Regions from separate parts of the Homo sapiens genome. Here regions 2 and 3 are each linked to region 1. Evidence: promoter capture Hi-C in human tissues and cell types (Jung and others, 2019). All regions are on one chromosome and are shown on one strand. The core of a region is centred on a gene start or on the middle of the fragment in contact, and the rest is flanking DNA. Distances in the headings are between cores, read along the strand shown.

Region 1 (3,880 bases), core at 674-3,173:
CGGCTCAAGCAGCGGGCTAACAACTACTGGCCTTTTCGTCCCCAACGCGGGAGCGCAGTGCATCCCAGTGGACAAACTCGAGAACCGCACGCTGCTCTCCGCCTCCACCTCTGTCCTCCCCGCTCGCGGTTCCAACCCGGGACCCAAATGCACGAGCTCGGTGAATGCCCCGGCAGGAGGGCGAGGGCTCAGAGGCAGCCTGCCCAGCAAAAACGACAGCTGTGCTCTGGTGGGCCCTGGGCCACCCCAGGCAGAAGCCAGAGAAGCCCGAGAACCCCGGCGGGCTGGCAAAGTTTGCCGAGAAGGGTCTTTCTGGACACCCCCACCACGGGCTCTAGGCTCGAACCCCCTCTTCCATCTGGCCCTGGAGTCCCAGACACAGACAAGCCCCGGGCGCGCCGGCGGGCGTATGTGCGTGTGTGTTTACAGCGGGGTGGCCGCCGGAGCTCCCCAAGAACCCCAGCTCTCCCGCCCCAGCTGCCCGCCAGCTGTGAGCGCCCGTCGGGCCCGGAGGTCACCCGCAAACAGCTGGGTCGGCAGCTGGGAGCCTGGGAGGCCCCTGCTCAGCCCCGGGGCCCCGAGAAAGGAGAAGGGGGAGCGGAGTGGCTGTTTGGCTGTGGTTTCCTCCAACTCCGCCTGCGAAGCTCTCGCTGGGAGCCCGGAGCTTTAGCTTTCCCCGGCAGCCCCGGCCCCCGCGCCCGCCGCGCCCAGCGGCCGGCGCCTCGCCCCGGGCCCCGGGGAGGAGGCGCGCCGGGGCAGCCGGCCAGGACACTGCGCTGCTGGCTCCTAGAGCTGCGGGCGCGCCTGGCCGGCCCCACTTCCCGGGTTGCTGGGGCGGGCGCCGCTGCCCCGACCCCGGACGCGCGGAACCCTGGAGACCCGGCCGCTCCCCGCCAGGGCCGCGGTGCTGCTCCAGGCTCCGGGCGGGCGCCCCTTTCCGGCTACCGGTGCACCCCGTTGCCCGCTTGCGGGAAGCGAAGAGGGGTCCCTTGATTTGCAACATAGAGGAAAGCGCCGCTTCCGCCCAGCCTGGCACCCACGCGCCCACACGCACCCGGCGCCGGCCGGGTCGCTCACCTGAGTCCTAAAAGCTGTTGAATCCACATGGTCACGTTTCGGGGAGCGGGGCCTCAGACCTGGCTCGCCCAGGCCATCTGCGCGGCGCCCGCGCCCGCTCGCTTCCGTCCCGCGGCGCCGGTCTCCGGCTCTCGGTCCGCCGCCTCCCGCCGCCCGCCGGCCGCGGGGCGCACAGCGAGTCAGAGCGCGGCCGCGCGGGGCTCCATGCCGGCCGGCGCGCCGCCGCCGTTGGGGCGCATGGCTCAGGCTGGGCGGCCCGCGGGGGCGCACATCCTCCGGCCGGGGCGCGGGGCTCGCGGCCCCCTCCGCCGGCGGCACAGCGAAGGCGGCAGCGAGGCGGGGCGTGTTCCGGCGCTGTCGCGGCGCAGCAAAGGGCTGGGGAGCCGCGGCTTCGCCCTCCGGGGCGGCGAGGAGGGAGGCCGGCGGCGCTGCCGCTCACGGTGCGTGTCTCCCGGCGCGCGGCTCTTGCCTCCAGCCGGAGCTCCGCGCCGATGGGGCGGCGCTGCTTAGGGTTTGGGGTGACGCGACGCGGACGGACGCGAGTCCCCTCCGCGCTGCCGGGTCGGGGGGCTCTGCCAGAGGCTCCGCCGCCGATCGGCGCCACTCAAGTTGCCCGGGGGCTCCGTCTGAGCGCTCGCTCTGCAGACGGCCGCGGCCCGGAGACTGGCAGGAGGCGGGCACGAGAGGCGCGCGGGGCGAGGGCGCCGTGGAGCGCGGGGCGTGGGGACGCGCGGCGGCGGCGCCGCGCGGAGGAGGCGCGCGGGGATCCCGGGGCCCCGCCGCCCGCGCCCACCGCGCCCGCCGCAGAGCCGCCCGCGCTGCTCAGCCGCCTCCCTCCTCGCGTCTGCCTCTCCGCGCGCTCGCCCCCGCCTCCCGGAGCCGGTCCCAACTCCGCCCGCCCGGCCCGGCTCACGTCACCCGCCTTCCCCGCCCCTCGAACGGGAGCTCGAGCCCCTGGCCTGGCCCCGGCTCCTGCTCGCCGCCCCACCTTGCGGGGGCCGGGGTCGCCGCGGGTGGTGGGGGGCGCTGTGCCCAGCAGGGGCGACAGCGCAGGCGGGGCCTCCTGCAGCCCCCTTCCCCATCCCCGGTCGCGTCCCGGTCCCCACCTTGCGAAAGGCTCGAGAGAGGCCGCAGGCTAGGATTGGACCGCCGGGCGCCGCCGGATGGTGTTGCCAGGGTAACCGGATGGCACGCGAAGCCGTTCGAGGTTCCGACCCGGTTACGGGGGCGCCCAGTGGACCCGGAGAGCTACTTTGGGGAGGGGGCGGCCCCGAAGAAGGACTGGGTGGGGGCGCATGGAGCGGGGGCTGCGCGAAAAGTTTCCTGGGGCGGAGCTGAGCCACGCGGGCCGCGCAGGAGCGTCTGTCCGAGGGTCGCCTACGAGGGACTCCTCTGCTCGGCTGCGCGGGCTTCTGCGTTGATGAAGTCACCGCGTTCCGGGTCGGAGCTTCGGCGCTTCTGCCCCGAACCCAGCGAAGCCCGGTCCTATGCCCCCAATTACCCAACGGTCCCTCATCGCCCAGCGCAGCTGCTGCCTGGCCAGGCCCTTGCTCCGGAGGAGTCACTGGAAAGTTCCAGGGAATCTGGGCCTCCCGGACTCTCCACCGGCGTTTCACTGCTCCCTTCCCATGCCAGGACTCCTCTGTGCCTACCTGGTTAGTCTGTATTTGCAAAAAACAAACAAAAACAACAACAAAAAACAAATGGGGGGCACTTAAAGGAGGACAGACGCTGGGCGGGGACCTTTCACTGAGAGAAGTGACATGGGGCGGAATCCTCTGCAGACCCGCTGACGCCTTGAGAAACCACGGCAAAACCCTGCTTTTAATCCTCCACAGGCTGAGGGCAGTGCAGAATCCGGGCCTTGGAAAGGACACTGGTGCCACCCTTCACTGGGGAAAGGTGCAAGGGGCGGGGGATATACCATGCCGAGCCTTCGCTCTGTGCTCTGTGCAGGTGCTTGACCCAGGCCAGCTCTGGAATCGCCCCAGGCCATGTGAGAGCCGTGGGGGGTGAGAGGGGCGGGAAGCACTTCACAGGTGAGGCCTCCCTGGGAGGGGCAGCCAGTGAGGGGGTGGAAGGGCAGAGCCAGGAGGACCATGGCTTGGGGCTCAGTCTCCCAGGCGAACCATAGCTTGGGGCTTAAGTCCCCCAAGCAGCCCTTTCACCCCCAGGCCTCCAGGATCTTTGCCAACGGTCTTGAGGAGCCAGGCACAGGATTGGACTCTGCCCGGGCAGGAGGATGAAGACAGTGACTTCCCCACCAAGACTCCCGGCAGAGGGCCAGAGGCAGGGAAGTGTGGTGGCAGGAGGGCCAGCCTTGCCGTGGCTGGACCAGGGGCCAGCGCTTGCTAACTCGGGGTCCTGGCCGAGTTGTGTGGCCTCTCCGACCCTCGGTCTCCTCATCTGTAAGATGGGTCCCACAGCCCCTCCCCGGGGAGGTGTTTGCAGGGCTCCATGAGAAGGCCTTACACACACTGTGGCTATGGTGATCTGTGAGCCGGTCAGAGGACCCGAGAGGCAGCAGGGTGACTCAGCAGTTTCCCTGCCGGGCCGCCCCTGGGTCATCGTCCCCTAGAGCCTCTCCCTGAGGGGTGTGAGGGAGCGGATCCCATTAAGAGGCGAAGGAGGCAGGGAGGTCCTGGAACCAGCGGGGCCTATGGCGGCCGGCGGGGAAGGAGGCGCCGGCAGTGCTGCCACCTAGCGGTGTGAGGAGGCGGTGCTGCACCAGGGAGGCCCTTCCTGCAACCGGAGTGGGCCTGGAAGGGGCCGGCTTCGCACACTAGGAGCCAGCAGGGCAGGG
Region 2 (3,586 bases), core at 384-2,883, 490 kb after region 1:
ATCATTCACCACTTACCTGAGGGACAACCGATGCGTGGAATAACCGAGCGATTCTCAGGAGCTCCTGCTCTCAAGCCACGGACTCTTAGGACTAAAGTCATGTTCCTGGGACTCGATGCCATTAGCACATCCTGCCCCAAATCAAACCCTTCTCCTGTACAGGTTTCCAGACAGCCTTCCTCGGTCTCACCCTCAGCTGTCTGTGAGTCACCCCTACCCACTGCAGCTCCCCGTTGGCAAATGACGAAAAATTGGGCCACATTATCACGGATACCACGTGCATCAAGAAAACAAATTAAGTCTAACATTTGTGCGGTGACAGCTGACCTTTGCATGATTAAAATGAATGGCTGCAAAAGGAGGCAGAATAAAGATGTTTAACTTAGTGAAGCAAGCTTGGAAGCCTGGGGATGTTTCTGGGCAAACCTGAAGGTGAGACAAAAACAGGGTCACACTGCCTGCTGGCACCTGTTGGCCAGAAGAGGGGCCACTGTTGGGGAGAAGGGCCGGGGCATGGGCTTCCAGACCAAGAGAGAGAGCATGGCCTCCCCTGGCCCTGACCTGGCCCAGCTCAGCTGGGAGCACCAGTCTCTTCCAGTGCCTGCATCGAGCTCTCTGCTGTTTCATCTCCCCCTGTTCTCATCGCTCCTGTTAGTTCAAGATTTGTCACTGTATGCCCCGGGACTGGCCTAAGTGGTGGCTTCATAAATATGGAAGGGGCCTGGTGCGGTGGTTCATGCCTATAATCCCAGCACTTCGGGAGGCCGAGGTGGGTGGATCACTTGAGGTCAGGAGTTCAAGACCCACCTAGCCAACATGGTGAAATCCCATTTCTACTAAAAAATACAAAAATTAGCCAGGCATGGTGGTACACACCTGTAATCCCAGCTACTCAGGAGGCTGAGGCAGGAGAATCACTTGAACCCGGGAGGCAGAGGTTGCAGTGAGTCAAAATCATGCCACTGCACTCCAGCCTGGGTGACAGAGTAAGACTCTATCTCAAAAAAGAAATAAATGAAAATAAATAAATGTGGAATGAATGAGTCAAAGCTCCTTAAGGATGGTGTGTATTTCTTTTGCCTTCTTCATGGGACCCAGCCTCCAGCTGGGCAGACGTGACCCCTCTGAGATCTGCAGAACCTGCTTCTCTCTCTAGCAGGCTCTCCTCACACGGCCATATGTCTTGTGGGAGGTAGACAGACCTGTGCTCCTTGAAGACAACGACTGTGTCTAAGTAATTATGTATTTTTCTCCACGTAACACTGCACTCATATAGCTGGTGATTCAATCATTGTGTTAAGTGAGCAGGGTATAAGCGATGTAGGGGTCTTGCTTCTCTGATTTTGGGTGGAGTTCATGTGACACTAGCAGGAATCATAAAGAAGGCACGGATCTGGTTCTGTGTGCAGAAGAAGCATGGAATGGTTGGTGTTGGACTGCAAAGAGCTCAGGTGACCCACTGTTCAGCAGCATTTCCCCATTCTTCGTCTTGGCAAAGTCTTCTTCATTTTCTGTATCTGCAGAACTTCCTTGACAATGTAGACAGGTAAGAAGAATGAATAATTGCTTCAATGGCTGAAATGTGTTGAGCAGTTCCTATGGCCACATATGAACAGTGTATGAGAGAATATGTATGAGAGAATACATTCCTGTGATTTTTAAGCTGCCCAGCTCAAGATACTTAATTATGACCACCTAGGAACCTAACAGGGGCCACATATGCTTAGCACACGCCACCTGACCAATCATCCCAGCAGCCCCAGGAGGTGGAGACCTGTTACAAGTTGAATTGTGTCCCTCCAGAAAGGTATGTTAAAGCCCTAACCCCCCCATACCTTTCAGTGTGACCTGATTTGGAGCTAGGGTCTTTGCAGATGCAACTGAGTTAGGAGAAGGTCTTCAGGTAGGTTCTTATCCAATATGACTAGTGTCCTTCTAAGAAGAGGAGACAGACACACAAGGGGGAGTTGGCCATGTGACCACAGAGCCAGTAATTGGAGTGATGCTACCACAAGCCGAGGGATTCCAGGAGCCACCAGAATCTGGAAGAAGCAAGGAAGGACCCTCCCCCAGAGGCTTCTTAGTGAGCATGGCCCTGCCCACACCTTGATTTCTGAGTTCTGGCCTCCTGGGCAGGTGAGATAATAAATTCCTGTGATTTTTAAGCCATCCAGCTTGTGGTACTTGACTATGACAACCTAAGAAAGTCATAGAGGGCTATTATCATCTCAATATTGCTGTTGAAGAAACAGACTCTGATGACTAATATTGAGTGTCTACTTGATTGATTTGAAGGATGCAAAGTATTGTTCCTGGGTGTGTCTGTGAGGGTATCGCCAAAGGAGCTTAACATTTGAGTCAGTGGACTGGCAGAGGCTGACCCACCCTCAGTCTGGGTTGGCACCATCTAATCACCTGCCAGCGAAGCTAGAATAAAAGCAGGCAGAAGAATGTGGAAGGAATAGACTGGCTGAGTTTTCTGGCCTCCCTCTTTCTCTTGTGCTGGATGCTTCCTGTCCTCGAATACTGAACTCCAAGTTCTTCAGCTTTTGGACTCTTGGACTTATACCAGTGGTTTGCCAGGGGCTCCTGGGCTTCCCTACTTTCAAGGTTTTGGGACTCAGACTGGTTTCCTGGCTCCTCAGCTTGCAGATGGCCTATTGTGGGACTTCACCTCGTGATCGTGTGAGTCAATTCTCCTAATAAACTCCCCTTCACATATACGTCTATCCTATTAGTCCTGTCCTTCCAGAGAACCCTGACTAATACAGGCTCAAAGAGGTTAAGCATGTTGCCCAGGGTCACAGAGCTAGTAGGTTAAAGTACACATGCAGAAGCCCATTGCAAAGGCAACGGGCGTGCACCTGCCACGTGAGAGAATCACCCACCGTGCCCTCCAGTCGCCAGACTGTATCTGACCCATGTGGATGGAAACCATTCTCATATAGATGGTCCGCTTCCATGCCTCCCTAATCCTGGAAAGTAATTGACTTCTTCTTAGATGAGTAAAGAACTTTGTGCACATGCACTTGTGTGGTTACAGAGAGCACCGTTGGGAGCTGCCGTGAAGCCGTTTTGTTTTCTTCTGCAGTGGCAGGCTGTCGTCTGCCATGTCTCCTGGCATCTGCCACTAGCAGGCTCTTTGATGTCAGATTTTCTTAGGACCGAAAATGAGCTCACAGAGCCTTTGGGTAATTGTGTATTTATAAAAACATCATAATAAGAAGAATAACAACAGCTAACATTCATGTGACAGTTACTGCCTCAGTTAATCCTCTGAAGCCTGCACAGTAAATGGCACTGCCCATGGTTTGACAAGGGTGAGACAATGAGGTTCCAGAACGCGACGTGCTCACATCCACACAGCCAGCAGGCAGCGGGACTGGATCCCAAACCGAGAGGCCTCAAACTTTTCTGACCTCAAGGGCAGAGCCGGGGTGGCCGGGGCACTCAACAATCCTGGCAGGTCTCTGGTTTGCAGAATTGGGGTGTTGCGCACTGAGAAAATGATGGACAAGGAGATCTTCAGAAGAGCGATCACAAAGCCGCTGGCGGGAGACTGAGGACGCAGCAGAGTGCTTCTTCC
Region 3 (3,655 bases), core at 611-3,110, 500 kb before region 1:
TTTCTGCAGCAGGCTTGAATTTCTCCCCAGAAAATGGGTTTTTCTTTTCTATTGCATTGTCAGGCTGCAAATTTTCCAAACTTTAACACTCTGCTTCCTCTTGAAGGCTTTGACACTTAGAAATTTATTCTGCCAGAGACCCTAAATTATCTCTGTCAAGTTCAGAGTTTCACAGATCTCTAGGACAGGGGCAAAATTCTGCCAGTCTCTTTGCTAAAGCATAGCAAGAATCACCTTTATTCCAGTTCCCAACAAGTCCTCATCTCCATCTGAGACAACCTCGGCCTGGACTTTATTGTCCAAATCACTGTCAGCATTTTGGTCAAAGGCATTCAACAGTGTCTAGGAAGTTCCAAACTTTCCCCATTTTCCTGTCTTCTTCTGAGCCCTCCAAACTGTTCCAACCTCTGCCTGTTACCCAGTGCCAAAGTCACTTCCACATTTTCAAATATCTTTATAGCAGCATCCCACTCTCTGTGGTAACAATTTACTGTATTAGTCTATTCTCATGCTGCTATAAAGAACTGCCTAAGACTGCGTAATTTATAAAGGAAACAGGCTCAATTGACACACAGTTCCACATGGCTGTAGAGGCCTTAGGAAACTTATAATCATGGCAGAAGAGAAGCAAACAGGTCCAACATGGTGGCAGGAGAGAGAAGTGCAGAGTGAAGGAGGGGAAAGCCCCTTATAAAATCATCAGATCTTGGGAGAACTCACTCACTGTCATGAGAAGAGCCTGGGGGAACTGCCTCCATGATTCGGTTATCTCTACCTGGTCCCGCACTTGACACATGGGGATTATTACAATTCAAGGTGATATTTGGGTGGGAACACAGAGCCAAACCATAACACAGGGGATGGTCCTAAGCCAGGAAAACTTGAATTACAGGGCTGGGGATGGGAAGAGAGACCTAAGAGAAGGTGTAGACAGTGGGAACATGAAGGATGAAGCTTGGGCTTGAGTTATGGGTTGGCCAGAAGGCAGAACTCCACAAGGATACCTGGGCTTTCCATCAGTGTATGGGCAACAGCAGAAATGCGGATGCCAATGTGTGTGAGAAGAAGCCCCTAGCTGGTAGGTTTGGGCTTGTTTAAGTGATATTGCACTTGAGGTGACAGGAATGTCCTTGAAGCTTTGCCTTCTGGCTGAAAGGGATGCAGCAGCACCACCTCATCCTTCTCTTTAGAAAGGGATTATCAGGCCCAATAAATAGAGCAAATAAATCCTCTTCATTACTCTGTGCAAAGATGTAGGAATGTGGTAGGGGTGGGAGGATGTGTGTGTGTGTGTATGCGCACACACGTACACACACACACCTGCATACGCTCAGGCTACCCAGGATCTAAATATTTCTTCAGACTAAGTTGAGATTCTCAGCTCAGATTCTATTCTATGAACTTGTCTCATGAAAATGTTGATTACACATATAGATTTTGCATTGGGAGAGCACTGCGTTTGTGTGTGTGTGAGCATGTGTGAGTGTGTGTGTGTGTGAGATGGAGACGAGGTATATAAAGAATGATGTAAGGAAACATGCCTTTGTGGGAAAACAGATGGTCTTGAAGAAGAGAACTGAAATGCAGGAAGCCATCCTGGCTGCAGCTGCCTCCCCAGCGAGCGCCTCTGAAGACTCTCAAGCAGATTCCGCCTGATTGCGCTCACTCCAGCCGTTCTTACCCAGATGAAATAAGCATGGAACAGACTCTTCTGCCTAATGAGAATTTAAGTTCTCAACTTTGTCAGAGATGTGAGCCTGCAGACTCGGTGTGAGGTACGTTTCTAAGAGTGCATCTGTAATAGGAGGGGTCCCAGTTCAGGCTCCGCCATCCCCTCCAGAATCTCCCAGCACAGGACCCCAGCAAAGGCAAAGCTCATGATGTGGGTGATGGCATCATAGCAATGAGAGTCCTCGGGCTCAGAGCCCATCTGGCCTCACTGAGTCCAAGAATGTCTATTGAGTATCTCCCGAGTGCAGGAGGTAGATGCCAAGGGATGCACATCCAGAAAGGAAAAAGACTTTCTGCTTAAGTAGACCCATGGGACAGCACCGAATTTGCAGGCTTGGGCTTGAACTCATTGTCTGGTTTGAGCCCCAGTTCTGCCATTACTGAGCTATGCGACCTTGAGCAAATTACTTAACCCTACTAAGCCTGCATGTTCACCTCTGCAAAATGAGAATAACAATCATGCCTGTCTCTTGTGGCTCTTGTAGGAACTCAGCAAGTGATGTGTAGAGGGCACACAGTCCTATGCTGGACACATAGTGAAAGCTCAGTTAACATTAGCCATGAATGTAAGGAGCACTCAGATATCCTGAATCATGGCAATGCTTGCAGAGCGTGGGTACCTAATGTGTGCTGAAATGACTTTTGAGAGGCATTCCTAGGCAATTTCAAAGTACTTTTCCACATCTTTGTTCCAAGTTGTCTTATTTTTATGTCTTTCCTACTAGTTCAAACCTCCTGAGATTATTTTGAGAAAGAGGCTTGTACATTTCAAACAATACTGATGTCCTCCACATTTACAGTATAAATATTGAGGGTGCTCAGAGAGAGGATGAGGAGAGTGGTGAGTGGGCAACAGAAATGAAGGAGGTAGCTGGGGGCCTGGACAGGCACCTGCTCTGAGCGGAGCCATGCCGGCATCTCTGGCTTATTGAGTAAAGCAATTTCTTCCTGTTTCTGCAGGATTGTCTCCTCCCAACCCCTACCTCTTTAGTTTCCCTTGGTATCTTTGGCCTTTCAGGTCCTCTCATGGTCTTCTTGCTCCCTTGGTGCAGGAAAGAAAGACTGCTGTGTGGTTTTGGGGTTTGGTTTTCTCCTGCTCAGGGGCCTCTGCAGGAACTGGCTGTTTGGCGGGACCTTGTCTTTTGCAGAAACACATGTCCAGTAGCCTCAGCCAAATTCCCTCTGGCTGAACCAGGATCACAAAGAGTAATGATGGCCGCCAGCATTTACAAAGCAGCCCTGTGTGCTGCAAGCTGCTTGGCCATGTCATTACATTTATCCCTTCCAATAACTAGGTACTGCAGAGTGTTCTTATCCATGTTGGAATGAAGGAACTGACACAGAATGAGGAGTCACTTGATCAGGCTGCACAGCAAGGACATGGTGAGGCCAGGCCCAGAAAGGCCCTTCTCTCTGTCCAGCCTCCCTTGGAGACTGCAGTCTCTCAATGGGGCCCCTCCTAGCTGTTCTCATGAGCCAGCAAGACTGAGAAAGGACTTCTAGAAGCATCAGACTGCAGAGCTCAAAGAGAAAGGACTTATTTAATTTTACATAAAATGAAGAAGCAAGAGAAAACAAAAAACCCCTAATCTCTTGGGGGATGAGAAACAGTGATGGCCATCCCTGGGCTACTTGTGACTCTTTGGATCCATAGTCCCATTTCAAACCCACCTAGATGTATCAAACTTTCGTGAAATGTGCCCTTTGAAAATAATAGTGCTTTTTTCAATAGGTCTCAAACTTGAGCAGATGATTTCACCTCCCCTCTGGGCTCCCAGTCATAGGTCTTGACTCTGGTATCCCCCTTCATCTTTGTGATCCTGTAAAACTACTCAGACCTTCCTTTATACTGCCAGTGTTTCAAGGTCAACGTGAAATCCTCATTAAATTGTAGGTTTATCCTTCTGAATTGGGCTTCTAGCAA

The links. Contacts are between HindIII fragments. The study calls those that stand out against the background at their distance.
Region 2: a contact is called between a fragment that was not itself captured here and the fragment with the promoter of AJAP1 in region 1, in 1 of the 25 tissues and cell types used here (dorsolateral prefrontal cortex).
Region 3: a fragment that was not itself captured here is called in contact with the fragment with the promoter of AJAP1 in region 1 in 2 of the 25 tissues and cell types used here (dorsolateral prefrontal cortex and mesendoderm cells).

The regions. Positions count from the first base shown.
Region 1 is chr1:4,652,652-4,656,531 of GRCh38, reverse strand. AJAP1 (adherens junctions associated protein 1) reads right to left here and starts at 1,923. Exons shown (of 6, transcript NM_018836.4): 1 at 1,078-1,923. The coding sequence starts at 1,106. The HindIII fragment of the contact is 14,001 bases long and covers 1-3,880 here.
Region 2 is chr1:4,167,164-4,170,749 of GRCh38, reverse strand. No RefSeq gene overlaps it. Among named protein-coding and RNA genes, the nearest start is that of LINC02780, 190 kb to the right of the region's middle. The HindIII fragment of the contact is 3,094 bases long and covers 87-3,180 here.
Region 3 is chr1:5,149,656-5,153,310 of GRCh38, reverse strand. No RefSeq gene overlaps it. Among named protein-coding and RNA genes, the nearest start is that of LINC02782, 53 kb to the right of the region's middle. The HindIII fragment of the contact is 3,193 bases long and covers 264-3,456 here.